Regions from separate parts of the Homo sapiens genome. Here region 1 is linked to region 2. The links are contacts of gene promoters, found by promoter capture Hi-C in blood cells and fetal thymus (Javierre and others, 2016). All regions are on one chromosome and are shown on one strand. Each heading gives the region's core, a stretch centred on a gene start or on the middle of the fragment in contact. The rest is flanking DNA. Distances are from core to core; before and after follow the strand shown.

Region 1 (7,213 bases), core at 2,658-5,157, 210 kb before region 2:
AGAGGGCAGCTGCGTGAGTGGCTGGTGTCCATCGAGACAGATGGGTATCTTCACTGAGAGCCCCCAGAGGCCAGCTGCAGGGTGAGCTGTGTCCAGCACTCAGGAGGGGTTTGGTTCAGCCAGGGATCATCTGAATTCAGGGCCCACAGCGTTTGGACCCTGCACCCAGCTCAGAAACCTCCTCTTGGCTGGGGGTTTTGGTACAGCCTCCTTGGGGGCCATCTGGCAACATCAGCACAATGGCCAGTGTAAGCGCCTTTGGCCCAGTGATTCCATGGGCAGGAGCCTCCTGCCAGGTGTCTTCGCACACGTGTGCATGTGTGTTGGGGCCAGGACACTCACTGGATGAGGCTGGAGCCCATGCCCTCCCTGGAGAGGGACGAGGTGGGTGGACGGCGGGTGTTGATACTCAGCAGCACTGTGGATCCCCAAAGTGCGGTTTCCCAACACGTGAGATGCAAGGGCAGATAGTGGAGACAGAGACTCATGCTTGCATGCACAGGCAGGCATCTGGAGGGCTCCCTCTCTGAGGGGTTTGGGGGTGGTGGTTTTTGCTTCCCACCTTATATCCTTTGAGTGCAAAGATAGCTTTTTAACCATGCGCCTGTGTGACTTTCAAATAAATAAAAACCCAAACCTTCCTAATGCTAGTCATGTTTAGACAATCCCATACCACTTGAGGGTGCTGCCAGGAGCGGGTACTGCTAGGAAGGGCTCTTGGATGAGCAACAGGTTCCCCGAGCAAGAAGGTTCCCGTCTGAAGGCAGACGGCCCACAGGGGATGGGCTCTTGTCTGTCATTGACGGCACAGGCTTAGAAATGGCAGGCTTTGTCTCAAGACCGCTGGGCCACCCAGAGGAGTGGCCAAAGCCCTCTGATCCGTTTCCATCCATGACATGAGGAGCTGCCTGCTCCCTGTGAGGGAGAGACAGTTGTCCCCTGACATTCGGTGCTGGGTGACCTCCCTTTTCCTGGCCGAGAGCTGGGCTGGGGTGTGAACCTGGGCAGGCTGGGCAGTGGACGTGGCCCTCCAAGGTTACAGGCAGCTCAACTCCTGGTTTTCTGTGACACCCTCCCAGGTCCTCAGGCCTGGCCAAGATAAAGGCTTTCCCCCCAGAGCTGGCCTGGGGACCTCAGCACCCCCTGCTGGTGCCACACCCCCTGCATTCAATTCACTTTAGGGCCCCCTGTTCCCGCCAACCAGACCTGTCCTGCCCCTGGGCAGCCCCCAGTCTCCTTCCATGTCAGGGTCAGCATGGAGCCTTCTGGAGTTCACAGCAAAAGCCTGGGTGGGTCCGGGCAGTGGCTGTGGGATCCTGCCAGCCTCTTCCCTGGCCAGTGGGGCTAGGCTGGCATGGTGGTGCCTCCTCAGGCCTCACTGTGGGGGCCTCTCCTTCCATCTACATTTGTGAGTAGAACCTACTCAGCCCCAGGAGTCACCCTCCAAAATCTCTCCATAGGCATCACTGTGAGGCCTCCCCAGTGATCTCTGTAGTGAGCTGAAGAGTGTACCCCCAAAACTCATGTCCACCTGGTACCTGCGTGACTTTATTTAGAAATAGGTTCTTTGCAGATATAATCACAAGACGATGAGGTTATCCTGGATTAGGGTGGGCTCTAAATCCAGATGAGTGTCCTTATAAGAAGAGACACAGGCACAGAGGAAAAGGCCATGAGGTGACGGAGGCGAGGAGGAAAGACCAGGAAGGGCTGCGGCCTCCACCGGAGGCTGGAGGAGGCTAGGATCCTCCCCGAGGGCCCTGGAAGGAGCTTCTGTCTCCACTTCAGCCCAGCAATACTGATCTGAGACTTCTGGCCTCCAGAACTGGGAGAGAATAAATTGCCGTTATTTTAAGCCCCCCAGTTCCGGGTACTTTGTTGAGATAGCTCCAGGAAACTGAAACACCTCCAGGGTCCTGCATTGCCGGCACTCAGCCATCTAAGAAGGCCCCTAAGCTCGGAGTGGCCACTTCCCGCAGGGCCAGTGCTGCCTCCTGTGACTGGCTGGGCATTTGTGGGTGAAGGCAGCAGGTAACAGCCAGTGTTGACAGAGCCCTGGCCTGACGCCAAGGGCTGCATACCCAGTTTCTTCCACACACTCATCCTGTGAAAGGGGAGTAATTAACCCACCACGGAGGAGGAAAGTAGGCCTGAGGCTGAAGGCCCTGTAACTGGCTGTGAGGCTCTGAACTCCAGTGGTGACCACTGCACCGTCCTGGCCCAGGGATGGGAGCTGGGTGAGAAGACAGACAGGGGCTCCAAGAGTCCGAGTGTCTACTCTGACCACCCAGACACCCCCTTGCTGCAGTCTTGGCCGCCAAACAGTTCAGTGTCCTGGGAAGCAGGCACTCAGGGCCTGCCCAGGATGCGCAGGCCTTATCACACAGAAGCAGGTGGCAGGGTGCCCCCAGGGACCCCACTGTCCCTACAATCCCCACACATCTTCTCCATGTGGGCCACCATCCTGGAAACGTGCTGTTCATTTTCGGATGTACCCCAAATGCACAGATTTCATCCTGGCCTGAGATGTCTGCCCATGGCCCAAACACATCAAAGTCCCAGGGGATCCAGATTCATCCTCAGGGCACCAGACATCCCCCAGCTCTGTTCCAGGGAAACAAGCCCAGCCCGCTTTCCCCAGCTTTAGGCGAGGCAGGGCTCCAGGGAGACCTGGAGCAACTTGGAGCAGCAGTCCTCTCTGTGGCTGACCGGCCTGCTGGGGGCAGTTTCCACCTCCTCCTGCAGCAGTGTGAGAGGCTGTCTGCTACCCCACTGATGCGGATGTCCAGGCTTGGAGCCGTCTTGGGACTCCATTGCCGTCCCTGCTGTCACTGTTCACCCTGCTTAGCGCATCTGCCCGGGCCCACTTTGTGGAAAACACTCATTTGACGTCAACCTGCCTGACACCCCATTCCAGGTCTTTCTCCTTTAGCAGGACCCAGATCCAGGCCACGTGAAGATGTTACAGCTGCCAGAGCTGGAAAGAAAAATATCAACCTGGAAGCCTCTGTAGGGAGTTAGCCACAAGGGTGGCAGGATTGGATACTGGCTGCAGGGAGCGAAATTCAACACCTTGACCAGAAGGGCGTCCAGGTTGGGGATGCTGAGGGGTTAGGAACTGAGAACTGGGCTCTCTTTGCACAGTTGCTGCTAAGAAGGGGCTGTCCATCCTCGAACAAAGATGACAAGTCCCCTGGCCCGGCCTAGGCTGGGGCACAGAGCACTGCTTTTCCTCCTGGTGATGAAATCGGGGTCAAGAATCTAACATGAGAACTTGGTTATAAGCCGGCGAGCCTCTCGCAGGTCCAGGGGTGCATCCACACAACAGCTGACCTCCGGGACCGGGCCCAGGGCTCCGCTGCGGCTGAAGGCCAGGGCCGCAAAGCGAACAAAGCCCGCAGGTCCCGCGGCAAGGGCCGAGGCGCGCGACCTGGAACACGCGGGGGCTCGGAGCTCTGGGCGGGCAGGTGTTTGCGCGCGGGGGAAGGGCAGACCGACCCCGGACAGACCCGTAGCCCAGCTGTCGGACCAGAACAGCGTTTAGTCTTCGGACCTTGGGGAAAACTACAGAGGCCTCAGTGCCGGTAGCGCGTCGGGGGTGCGGCTGTGGCCGGGGTGTGTGTGGGCGGCTGTACACCTGGCAGCAGCCCGCCAGCCCCTTCCCGCCAGGCCCCGCGGCGCCTCCGGACACGCCCCACGTGACTTCCCCGGCTCAGGGCTTCCCCGCCCAGCCGGCTGCGGTCCCCGCCCCGCCGCACGAGACTGGGACCTGAGAGCGAAATCCATCCCGTAAGACGGGAGCGCGCAGGCGCGAAGTGTGGCGGCCCGGCGCGGCGCTCCCGGCCTGCCCCGCGTGCACGCTGACGCCGCGCAGTCTCGTCCCCTGCCGCCGCCGTCGCCGCTGCTGTCGCCGCCGCCGCCGCCATTGGAGTCGACGCCTCCTCAGTGCGTCCGCGTCCCGGGCTCACCGCCGCTGCCGCCTCGCCAGGGGCCCGCGCGCCCAGCAGCCGCCGCCGCCGCCCGGCCGGCGCCCGGGGAATTGGCGGCGGGGCCCGGGGCCGCGCGAGCTAGGGTGACAGGCCCGGCCTCTAGGGGAGGCCCGAGCCGGCGGGCGCCCCGGCCCCGCGTCTAGTTGTTCATGAAGCATGTCGGCCACCAGCGTGGACACCCAGGTAGCGGGGCCGGGTTACAGGGGCCGCGGCCGGGGCCGAGGCGCGGGGTCTGGGTTGAGGTCCTGGGGCTGGAACGCAGAGCCCGGGGTCGCGGAGGCCGGGCCCAGGCGGGACCGGGGTCTCGGGGCCGGGGTCGCACGTGACCGCGCGTCGGGGCCGGCGGAGCTCGCGGCCCGTTGGAGACCAGTTCTCTGGTGAATAACTTTGTGTTTCCCTCTTCCCCCGGGTTGTGTGTACCCCACGTCCCGGCCTGCGGCGGTGCAGAGAACAAAAGGACAAGATAATAAAGGTGAGCGGAGTCCCGGGACGGCCGGCGCGGGCTGGAGTGGAGGAGGACGGGGAAGGAACGGTCCAGGAAGCTGCGTCTGGAACCGGAAACTTTCTCTCTTCCGCCAGCTTCAGGGAGATAAAACTTGAGGTTGTGCGACGATTCTGGGAGATTTGACAGGTCGAAGACAGGGGCTTCTCAAGAAGTGAATAAATGATTGCTCAGAGTAGTTTGGGCCCGTCTCTCCCCACCGCATGATCATGGATTTGCTTTGGGGAAGGGGAGGTAGGAGAGCCGGGTGGACATGGCCGCAGGGGTTGAGCGACTTGCCTTTTTCCGCCCAGCAGGGGCTGCTCTAGGAGAGGGGCAGTCCAAGGTTCTGCAGGCTAAGCTCCACATCCCCGGTAGTTGCAGCCCGTTTTCCAAGTCTGTTAGCATCTCCTGTGACATTATGGCTTGGGATAAACCCTCAGAGCGCACTCATGTGAAAACTGTTAAGTGACACTTCACGTTTACTTGGAACACTTTTTTAGCCAGTTTGTGTGTCAGCTCAGGTGTAACCAAATACGGTTCATCGTGTTTTAAGATTGGAAAAGGCCCAGCACTTTATTTACCTTTGCTTGCTTTTTCTGGCTGAGCATAATAACAGTGGGAAGGTAAGTGGTGTAAAAGGAAAACCAGTCTTGGGGCACCCAAATCACTGAGCCAAAGGGAGAAAGCTACGCTGAGAACTGCTGAGGGCAAACCTGCCTCCCATTCTATTCCTGAAAAAGATAGCTTCTAAGACAAAAAAAGTTACATACTTCCCCCACAGTTTGCCCACAAGGAAATTCCTGGTGGACAAAGGACAGAACTCAGAGTCATTCCTGCTCACTGAGATAAATGCTTATCTGATTGCTTCCTTTGGAAAGGCTAATCAGAAACTCGAAAGAATGCAGCCGTTTGTCTCTTATCTACCTATGACCTGGAAGCCCCCTCCCTGCTTCAAGTTGTCCCGCCTCTCCGGACCAAACCAATGTACATCTTACATTGATGGTTCTCATGTCTCCCTAAAATGTATAAAACTAAGCTGTCCCCCGACTACCTTGGGCACATGTTGTCAAGACCTCCTGAGGTTGTATCATGGGTGTGTCCTTAACCTTGGCAAAATAAATTTTCTAAATTAACTGAGACCTGTCTCAGATATTTGGGGTTCACTGTGGAGAGTCAGATAATAGCTCCCAACAGTCCTTCAGTTGCAGCCCCTTCCCTCCTAAGTTTTCTTCCCTCCGTTCTCCATACGTTTGGGCATACATTCTGCATTTGGGCTTTTGGAGGCTCCACTTCTTTTTGCCACACATAAGTCTTCTTAGACCATGTCAGTTTTCACCCTGGTTATGTGTTCCTTGCATTATGTGTTAACACTTGATTTGGTTAATCTCACCAAATTACGATTAAGCCTTTATTTAAAATTTATCCTAAATTATTGAAAGTTTCCCGTCCCCCTTCTAATTAGTTGTATAAACATCAGTTCTATACTGGTTGTACTCCTTTTAAAATTAAAGCATAATTTCTGCTAGAAATAGATGGAAATAGACTTTGCTAACTTTGCCTTCCAAGCTTAAAAGTAATCTTTTAAAATTTGAGGGTAATATTTTGCAACTTTTTGTTCTAGTACAAAATGGTTCGTTACATCAGAAGGATACAGTTCATGACAATGACTTTGAGCCCTACCTTACTGGACAGTCAAATCAGGTGAGTTTATTTTGTTAGCATATATTTGTTTTTAAGTTGGTTTTAATTGTTTTGTACCTTTACTGTCATTTCTGATTTTTAAATTATCCTAAACAACAAAGCAGCAGACTATAAAGTATTAGGAATGATAGACTGCTCATGAAGATGTGACTCCTGTTAACCTTGGGCATCAGTGGGGTGAAAATGATTTTCCCTGTGGAGGAGGCGGCATCCCACTGGGGCTGGGATGCAAACAGGTCTAGTTGGCTCTAGTGTTTGTGGGTCAGTGGTGTGTCTTGCCTTTGACGCAGTGGAGGTGTGTGTGTGTTTCTGAAGCTTCCTGGTTATTCTTAGCTCTGGATGATTGGAATTGTGGTCTGGGGAGGCAGCTAAGAGCTGGGCTGTGGAGCGACTGTGGAGCCAGAGGCCGCCTGGGTTTCAGTCCTTTTTTTGAGACAGCGTCTCACTCTTGCCACCCAGGCTGGAGCGCAATGGCGTGATCTCAGCCTGCTGCAGCCTCTGCCTCCCGGGTTCAAGCATTCCTCCTGCCTCAGCCTCGGGAGTAGCTGGAATTGCAGGCACCCACTACCACGTCTAGCTAATTTTTGTATTTTTAGTAGAGACGGGGTTTCACCATGTTGGCCAGGCTGGTCTCAAACTCCTGACCTCAGGTGATCCACCCGCCTCGGCCTCCCAGAGTGCTGGGATTATAGGCGTGAGGCACCGCGCCCAGCCTGGTTTCAATTTTAACTCCACCACTGACTGGCCTGTGTCCATGGCTTGCCTTCTCTTGCCTCAATTTCCTTTTCTGTAGAAGAGAGAGAGTAGTAACTGTTTGTAGAATTGTTGGGAGGATGACATCAGATGGTGCACATAAAGCGCTGAGACAGTACCTGATACAGCAGGGCCCAGTGAGTCATAGCTGCCCTGTTTTCTTAGGTAATTCAGGCTTTCTCTGCCTTGGCACTGTGGACATTTTGCACGGGAACATTCTGTTTTGGGGGCTGTCCTGTGCATTGTTGGATGTTTAGCAGCCTCCCTGGCTTCCCACCCACTAGAT
Region 2 (6,695 bases), core at 435-2,934:
CTCTCCGAATGGCCACGGCGCCTTTCTTCCCATAAAGACCAAACTCCCCGCGTGATTCAAACTGTCCCACAGGCCTGGTCCCGCCCCTCTATCTCCTGGCCCCACCCGGGCCCCTCACTGCCCTTCCCTGTGCCAGGCCTCCTCCGGCCACCTGAATGCTCCCCCGACCCCGGCCCGTGGCCACAATGACACCCACTCACCCTTCAGACCCAGGCCCAAACACAGCGGCCTCCTCCACACCAGGTATCCTCAATTCCCGGTCTGTGCATCAGCCCCGAAGGCGGGGTGGGGTCCCAGGACAGCGCCTCAGACAGACGCTTCCATCCTCGGGGCCCCTGCGCTCCTGGCGGGCGTGTGCTGGGGGTGAGGCCGGTGCTGCAGGACGCGCAGCCAGACAGGCCGCCAGCCCGGCAGAGGCTGCCTCAGACCCATTCCCCTCCGCCAGGACAAAGGCCTGAGTTTCCCACGGAGACTTATCCATGCATCTGTCTCCTCACACCCCGCACCTGGCAGGGAACCACCGGACAGGCCGGTCACTGCTGCGTTCCCAGAACCTTCCAGACAGCACATCCGCCCCACACACGTGCAGCTCCCACTCCCCTCCCGGGGCTGCGCACACTGCCCCATCGCTGTGGCTCCTCCTGGGGCGGAGCCTGGAGAACAGGGAGGGTATGCGGCCCTTCCCAGGTCACACAGAAGGGCCCGACGGGCCGCTCCACCTCGTGCCATAGGCCAGGGTGGCCCAGTCTCCCACCCAAGCCAGGACCGGAGAAGCCACTATCCCTCAGCACACTCTAGCCTCAGCACTCGGCCGGGCCTCCAGGCAGGTTCCCACCTGGGAGAAGGGCTGGGGTTCTGGCCTTCATGCGGGGTTGGAAGAGGACTGAAAAGGCGAGTCCGAGGCTGGCCACATTCCCATCCAGTGTGGCTGGACCCCAGGGGTTCGGAGGCTCCGGGAAAGCCCACCAAGCCTCACGCGTTTCGCTGATAGATGCCCAGGAAGCGGCTGGCAGGGAAGAGGCGGTCCTGCAGCTCACAGAGCTCCCCTCCCACCCCCGGGGAGCCCCAGGCCGCGCTGCCCTCCACCTTCCCGCCCTCCCCGGCCTGCAACGCTCGTGGCGTTTTTCAACAGGTTCTAGAAACTCCCTCTCACTCTGCCCCTCAAGCCTGGCCACAGGGCGCCCCGAGCAGGGAGTGTGCGGGCTCCGGGTACACGCTGCGCCGCGGCTGCACCAGAGCGCCCACGACCCTGACCCCGACCCGAAGCGGCCCCTCAGCGGGACAGGGTGTTGGCGCTGGCGCTGCTGCTATTGCGGCGCGCCCCCCCGCTCTGGCCCCTGCGTGTCGCCAGGGACTCTTGCGCTAGGGTCAGACTCAAAGACGGACCGAGGCGGGTGCCCACCTGGGACGCGTGCGTTTGGTGGCGGAATCCCCGGGGCGGCCGGAGGCGGCGGCCGGGGAGTCGAGAAGCAAGTACTAGCGCTCCAGGACCGCGCGCGCCGCCCCGCGCCGCCCCGCGCCGCCCCTCGGTCCAGAGCCCCCACCCCCGGCCTGTGAGCCTGCGGCGCTGGTGGAGCCCGGCTCCAGGAAGAGGAGCTCACCCGGTCCCCCCTGATTGGACAGCAGCGAGGTCCCACCGGGCGCCTCCGCGGCTTAAAACCGAAGCGGGGGCGAGGGGGAGGTAGAGCCCGCCCCCTGCGCGTCGCGGCTGGGAGGGAGAGGAGGTGGGAGAGAAGGAAGAGGCGGAGGAGGCAGCGGGCGCCGAGGCTCTGGGACCCGCAGGCAAGCCAGACCGACGCGCAGAGCCGGGAGCCTCATCGCAGCGGCAGCGGCAGCGGCGGGCTCGGGCCGGCCTCGGGGGCTGCTCACCCACATGAGCATCCGCCCACCCGGCGAGCCCCCGAGCCCAGGCGGCGCGGCCATGGCCGAGCTCAAGTCGCTGTCGGGGGACGCGTACCTGGCACTAAGCCACGGCTACGCGGCGGCGGCTGCGGGTCTCGCCTACGGGGCGGCGCGAGAACCCGAAGCGGCCCGCGGCTACGGCACTCCGGGCCCGGGCGGCGACCTCCCCGCGGCGCCTGCACCTCGCGCCCCAGCTCAGGCGGCGGAGAGCAGCGGCGAACAGAGCGGGGACGAGGACGACGCCTTCGAGCAGCGGCGGCGGCGGCGCGGGCCAGGGAGCGCGGCGGACGGGCGGCGGCGGCCGCGAGAGCAGCGGTCTCTGCGGCTCAGCATCAACGCGCGCGAGCGGCGGCGCATGCACGACCTAAACGACGCGCTGGACGGGCTGCGAGCCGTCATCCCCTACGCGCACAGCCCGTCGGTGCGCAAGCTCTCCAAGATCGCCACGCTGCTGCTCGCCAAGAACTATATCCTCATGCAGGCGCAGGCCCTGGACGAGATGCGGCGCCTGGTGGCCTTCCTCAACCAGGGCCAGGGCCTGGCCGCGCCCGTAAACGCCGCGCCCTTGACGCCCTTCGGCCAGGCCACTGTGTGCCCCTTCTCCGCAGGCGCCGCCCTGGGGCCCTGCCCTGACAAGTGCGCCGCCTTCTCCGGGACGCCCTCCGCGCTTTGCAAACACTGTCACGAGAAGCCGTGACCGCGCGGGCCCCCGGCCCTCCCGCACGCGTCCTCCGATCGCCCCTGTGACTGTCTCTCTGCCCGGACAGGAAAGGCCTGGAGGGACCCTGCAGACCAGGAGGAGGGGGCCCGACTTCGCTTCCAGCCTGTGCGCGGTGGACAGTTTAGCGCAGCGGGAAGCGCCAAGGCCGTCGGGGCGCGGGATTGAGCTCGAGAGCCGGACGCTGGACTCTGCGCCCGGGAACTCGCGGCACCCACTGGGTATTGTCGGGACCCAGCAAGTCTAGGAACGGGGGTGGGTAGAGCATCCTTCGGGCACTGCCGTTCGTCCCCAAAAGAAGACCACCGCGGGGTCCCAGGGCCACGGCGAGGACGGGCACTGGTCAGATTCCGGACAGGCGGTCCTGGCCCCGGGCGCACGAAAGGTGGAGACGAAGAAAAGCCGGACTTACTGGCTCCTGATCCTCTTGCAGTGGGCCTCGCGCTCCCGCTCCAGCCGGCCCTTCGTGCTAAACTGCAGGGCAGTGCTCTGTTCCTGAGGACGCGCGTGGCCGGCACCTCCCACCTCGGTGACTCCGAGACTCCGCAGCCCTGCGGAGAGCCCACGATGGCCGTCTGCAGAGGAGCTGGACCGCGGGCGCAGGAAGACCCCGGGGAAGGCCTTTTCCAAGTAGGAGTTTGTTCTATTTATTTGGGAATTGGACGCCGTCGCCGGCTGCCTCGAAGTCTGAGGAATTTGTCCCCTAAATGTCCCCTGGCCTCCCCCCCCCGCCGCCATCCGCTGCCTGGGACGTCCGCGGGGTGGAGTTGGATGGAGACCGCTTTGCGGGCCCTCTGCCTCGGGGGGCTGCGTGGAGGAGGGTCCTCACAGCCCGCGCCCTACTTAACCCTGACGGTCAGGGGAGGGCCCCGTCTAGCCCTGGTGTCCAGCAAACCCCCTCCCCACCGATCCCCTCTCCCTTCCGAGGGAGGAGGCCGGGCTACGGGTGAGTAAGCTGCTGCGGGCCCCGTGCCCCGCCGGGTGTGAACGGAGATGCGCTGCGCAGTGCCCGTCCTGCGCAGCTCCCAGCTCTGCCACCATCCGGGATCCAGGGAGCCGGGCAGGGTGCCCCCGGGGACCCATCTGTCCGCGCCGGTTTGCGCCCCGCGGCCCCGCCGCAGTATCCGGCTTTATTAACCCAATTTCCTCGGCTGTCGGTAATGCCAAGGGGAGAGGGCCGCCGCCCTGCAACGCGCCTGTCTACAGCGTTTAACTCTGATTAATACATTCCACAGGGCCTTCTGTACTTGCAAAATCAAGTGTATGGTTAAGTCTTATTCATAAAGACATATGCCTAATACTGGTTTCTGCTAATTTCCACTTTTATTTCTTCATTGTCTTTTTTTTTTCCCCTAACAGACTAGTTTATCAGTTTTGCACATTCGAAAAGCTGAGTGCCAGACACCGTTTTTCCCCTTTTAGATAAAGTGGGAAAGCTGGAAACTCAAATGCCCTTCACTTCTAGGGTCATTTCAACGTGATCTTAAATAAATTACCTGCTTATCAGAATTTGAAACAGGGGTGTTTATTCTGGTTAAAATCAGAGACATTGGTACATCATTTATATTCAGAATAAAGCATTTTATTGCCATTTATTTTATAAAAATAATATGGTTAAATTTTAATATCAAGTGAAATAGTGTTCATTTGTAGCTGAATTCACAATAATTTCAATTTTCAGATACTTGTGTCCACTCGAAACCAGAGTCTGAAGAGTCTCTGAGATGCTAAAACTCATCTAAAAGCAACCACTTATTATAGCACATGTGTGAAATCATAAGGAAAAGGGCAGAGGAAAAAAATCTCTCTTTCTCTCTTTGGGTGGAGAATAAGTTTTTGAAAAAACCACTTCACTAATCAAAAATTCTTCCGATTACTTAATTTAAATAAAAATTCAAGTTACATTTAAACTTTTTTGTACATGACAAAGCTGTGTGTCTACTGTTCTACAAACGTCTGCATGCTTCTCACTTGGCCTGAGTGGAGTGGAGTGTTTCGGAGAATTAGCTCGCCTTCTCTGCAGTGGCTGCTCGCGAAGCCACCTGGGCAATCACAGTGTCATCTGGCCTTTCTCAGATTTGCCCAAGGATCTTCTCATTCCAAGACAGCCCTCCACGGCCTGTGTGCCCACATCTGGCAAACAGCAAAGCAGAACCCACGTGGGTGCCTGTGCAAGCCCGTGGCTCCCGAGAAACGTGGGGGGCTGCTCGTCTTTTCTCTGACGGCTGTGCTCCTGCAGGTGTGTTGAGAATGGCTGGGGATCACCGGGAAAGAACTTCACCGTCACCACCCACCAGGAGCCACCCTTCCCCCAACACTCAGGGAGGAACCAAACACGAAAGAGCTTTGCTTCCAGCTGAGCTTTTCAAGACGCTCACTGTGTTGTTTTGTTTTGTTTTGTTTTTTAAGACAGAGTCTCGCTCCATCACGGAGGCTGGAGTGCAGTGGCACCATCTTGGCTTGGCTCACTGCAGCCTCTGCCTTCCGGATTTAAGCGATTCTTCTGCCTCAGCCTCCCTAGTAGGTGGGACTACAGATGTGCGCCACCACGCCTGGCTAATTTTTGTATTTTTTTGTAGAGATGGGGCTTCATCATGTTGGCCAGGCTGGTCTTGAACTCCTAACCTCAAGTGATCTGCCTGCCTCGGCCTCCCAAGTGCTGGGATTATAGGCTGAGCCACCACGTCTGGCTAAGATGCTCACCTTTAGATTCCTTCTAGGTAGAGATGTGCAGGCTGTGGGAGGTGGGAGGCAGCGTCCCCAGAACCGAGGTGTTCACACCACCCCGTGACCAGTGTTGCTGTAGGGAGAGAACGTGGTCATGTGTAGAATTTTACATTTTCAAGTGGCCATATTAAAAAAGGAAATAGAAGCAGATGAAATTATTTTTATTGATAACTTAATACTTATCCCAATACATCCAAAATATCATTTCAGTGTGTCATCCATATTTAAAGTTATTCGATATTTTACTTTCCTGGCACTAAGTCTTCAAGTTCCAGCATGTGTTTAAAGCCCAGCTCAGTTCATACCAGCCATGTTCCAATGCGTTTCAGTGCTCAGTGGCCACGCGTGGTTTGGCAGCCTCGGGTTTTGCAGCTCTCGGCCGTGAAAACACCAAGCACGCAAAGTACTCCTTGCTTCTTTCTCTTTGTTTAATAATAACCAGGAAATGCCTATGGACTTAAGGAGTCCATTCTAGAGCTGGGCAAATAGGAAATGTCCCATCCTTGTTTCTTTTCCAATCCTGATTCATCGAGCCTTTCTCCGGAGTGCGGGCTGGGGCTGGGGCTGTGGCTGGGGCCTGGGCCGGCAGCAGGAAAGGCAGAGGCTGTGCCCACTGAGTCACTGGGTCCACATGCCCCTCCAGCCTCACACGCGCCAACCACACCCAAGCCTAGGAAACGGGAGAAAGCGGATTACAAGGCCACAGAGTAAAGGTGTGGGCCCTGCTGGCTGCTGCTTGAGCGACTCACAGATCAAGACCTGTTCTTTTTTTTTTTTTTTTTGAGACGGAGTCTCACTCCGTTGCCCAGGCTGAAGTGCAGTGGTGCGATATCTGCTCGCTGCAACTTCTGCCTCCTGGGTTCAAGCTGTTCTTCTGCCTCAGCCTCCTGAGTAACTGAGATTATAGACGAGCGCCACCACGCTCAGCTAATTTGTTTTTCGTAGAGACGGTGTTTTCCTATGTTGCCCAGGCTGGTCTTGAACTCCTGAGTGATCCACTTGCCTCAGCCTCCCAAAGTGCTGGGATTACAGGCGTGAACCACCACGTCTGGCCAAGACCCATTCTCTTGATGGCTTGGCCTCTCTTTGGAAACGAGTTTTGTGAAGCTTAGTTTGTGGGAGCTTGGGGCAGGCTTCTCCGAGCCCAGTGGCTCTGTAAGGGTCCCTCGTGCGGTCAGGAGATGCAGGTTGCCTGACCTAGGTCCCACTCTTGTCTTCATGCACTGATGGCCATGCCTGCTTCCTTGCTCCCCAGGGACTCTCCAGCTTGCTGGGTAAAAATAGAGGGCCCAGCAGGTTAGAAAACAAATGTGGGGTTCACAAGGCCTCTCCTTTTTTCTTTTTTCTT

What was found. Contacts are between HindIII fragments. The CHiCAGO score rates a contact against its expected background, and 5 or more counts as called.
Region 1: a contact is called between the fragment with the promoter of YTHDF1 here and the fragment with the promoter of BHLHE23 in region 2, in 9 of 17 cell types (activated CD4 T cells, fetal thymus, endothelial precursors and 6 more). The highest score is 8.0, in activated CD4 T cells.

What each region holds. Positions count from the first base shown.
Region 1 is chr20:63,212,825-63,220,037 of GRCh38, reverse strand. YTHDF1 (YTH N6-methyladenosine RNA binding protein F1) reads left to right here and starts at 3,907. Exons shown (of 5, transcript NM_017798.4): 1 at 3,907-4,172; 2 at 4,437-4,461; 3 at 6,095-6,174. The coding sequence starts at 4,146. RefSeq lists silencers at 3,555-3,834, 3,965-4,034. The HindIII fragment of the contact is 6,581 bases long and covers 1-6,041 here.
Region 2 is chr20:63,001,953-63,008,647 of GRCh38, reverse strand. It overlaps BHLHE23 (basic helix-loop-helix family member e23), which reads left to right and starts at 1,684. Exons shown (of 1, transcript NM_080606.4): 1 at 1,684-2,721. The coding sequence starts at 1,874. The coding sequence ends at 2,599. RefSeq lists enhancers at 552-1,259, 1,260-1,965, 4,290-4,803. The HindIII fragment of the contact is 10,733 bases long and covers 1-6,456 here.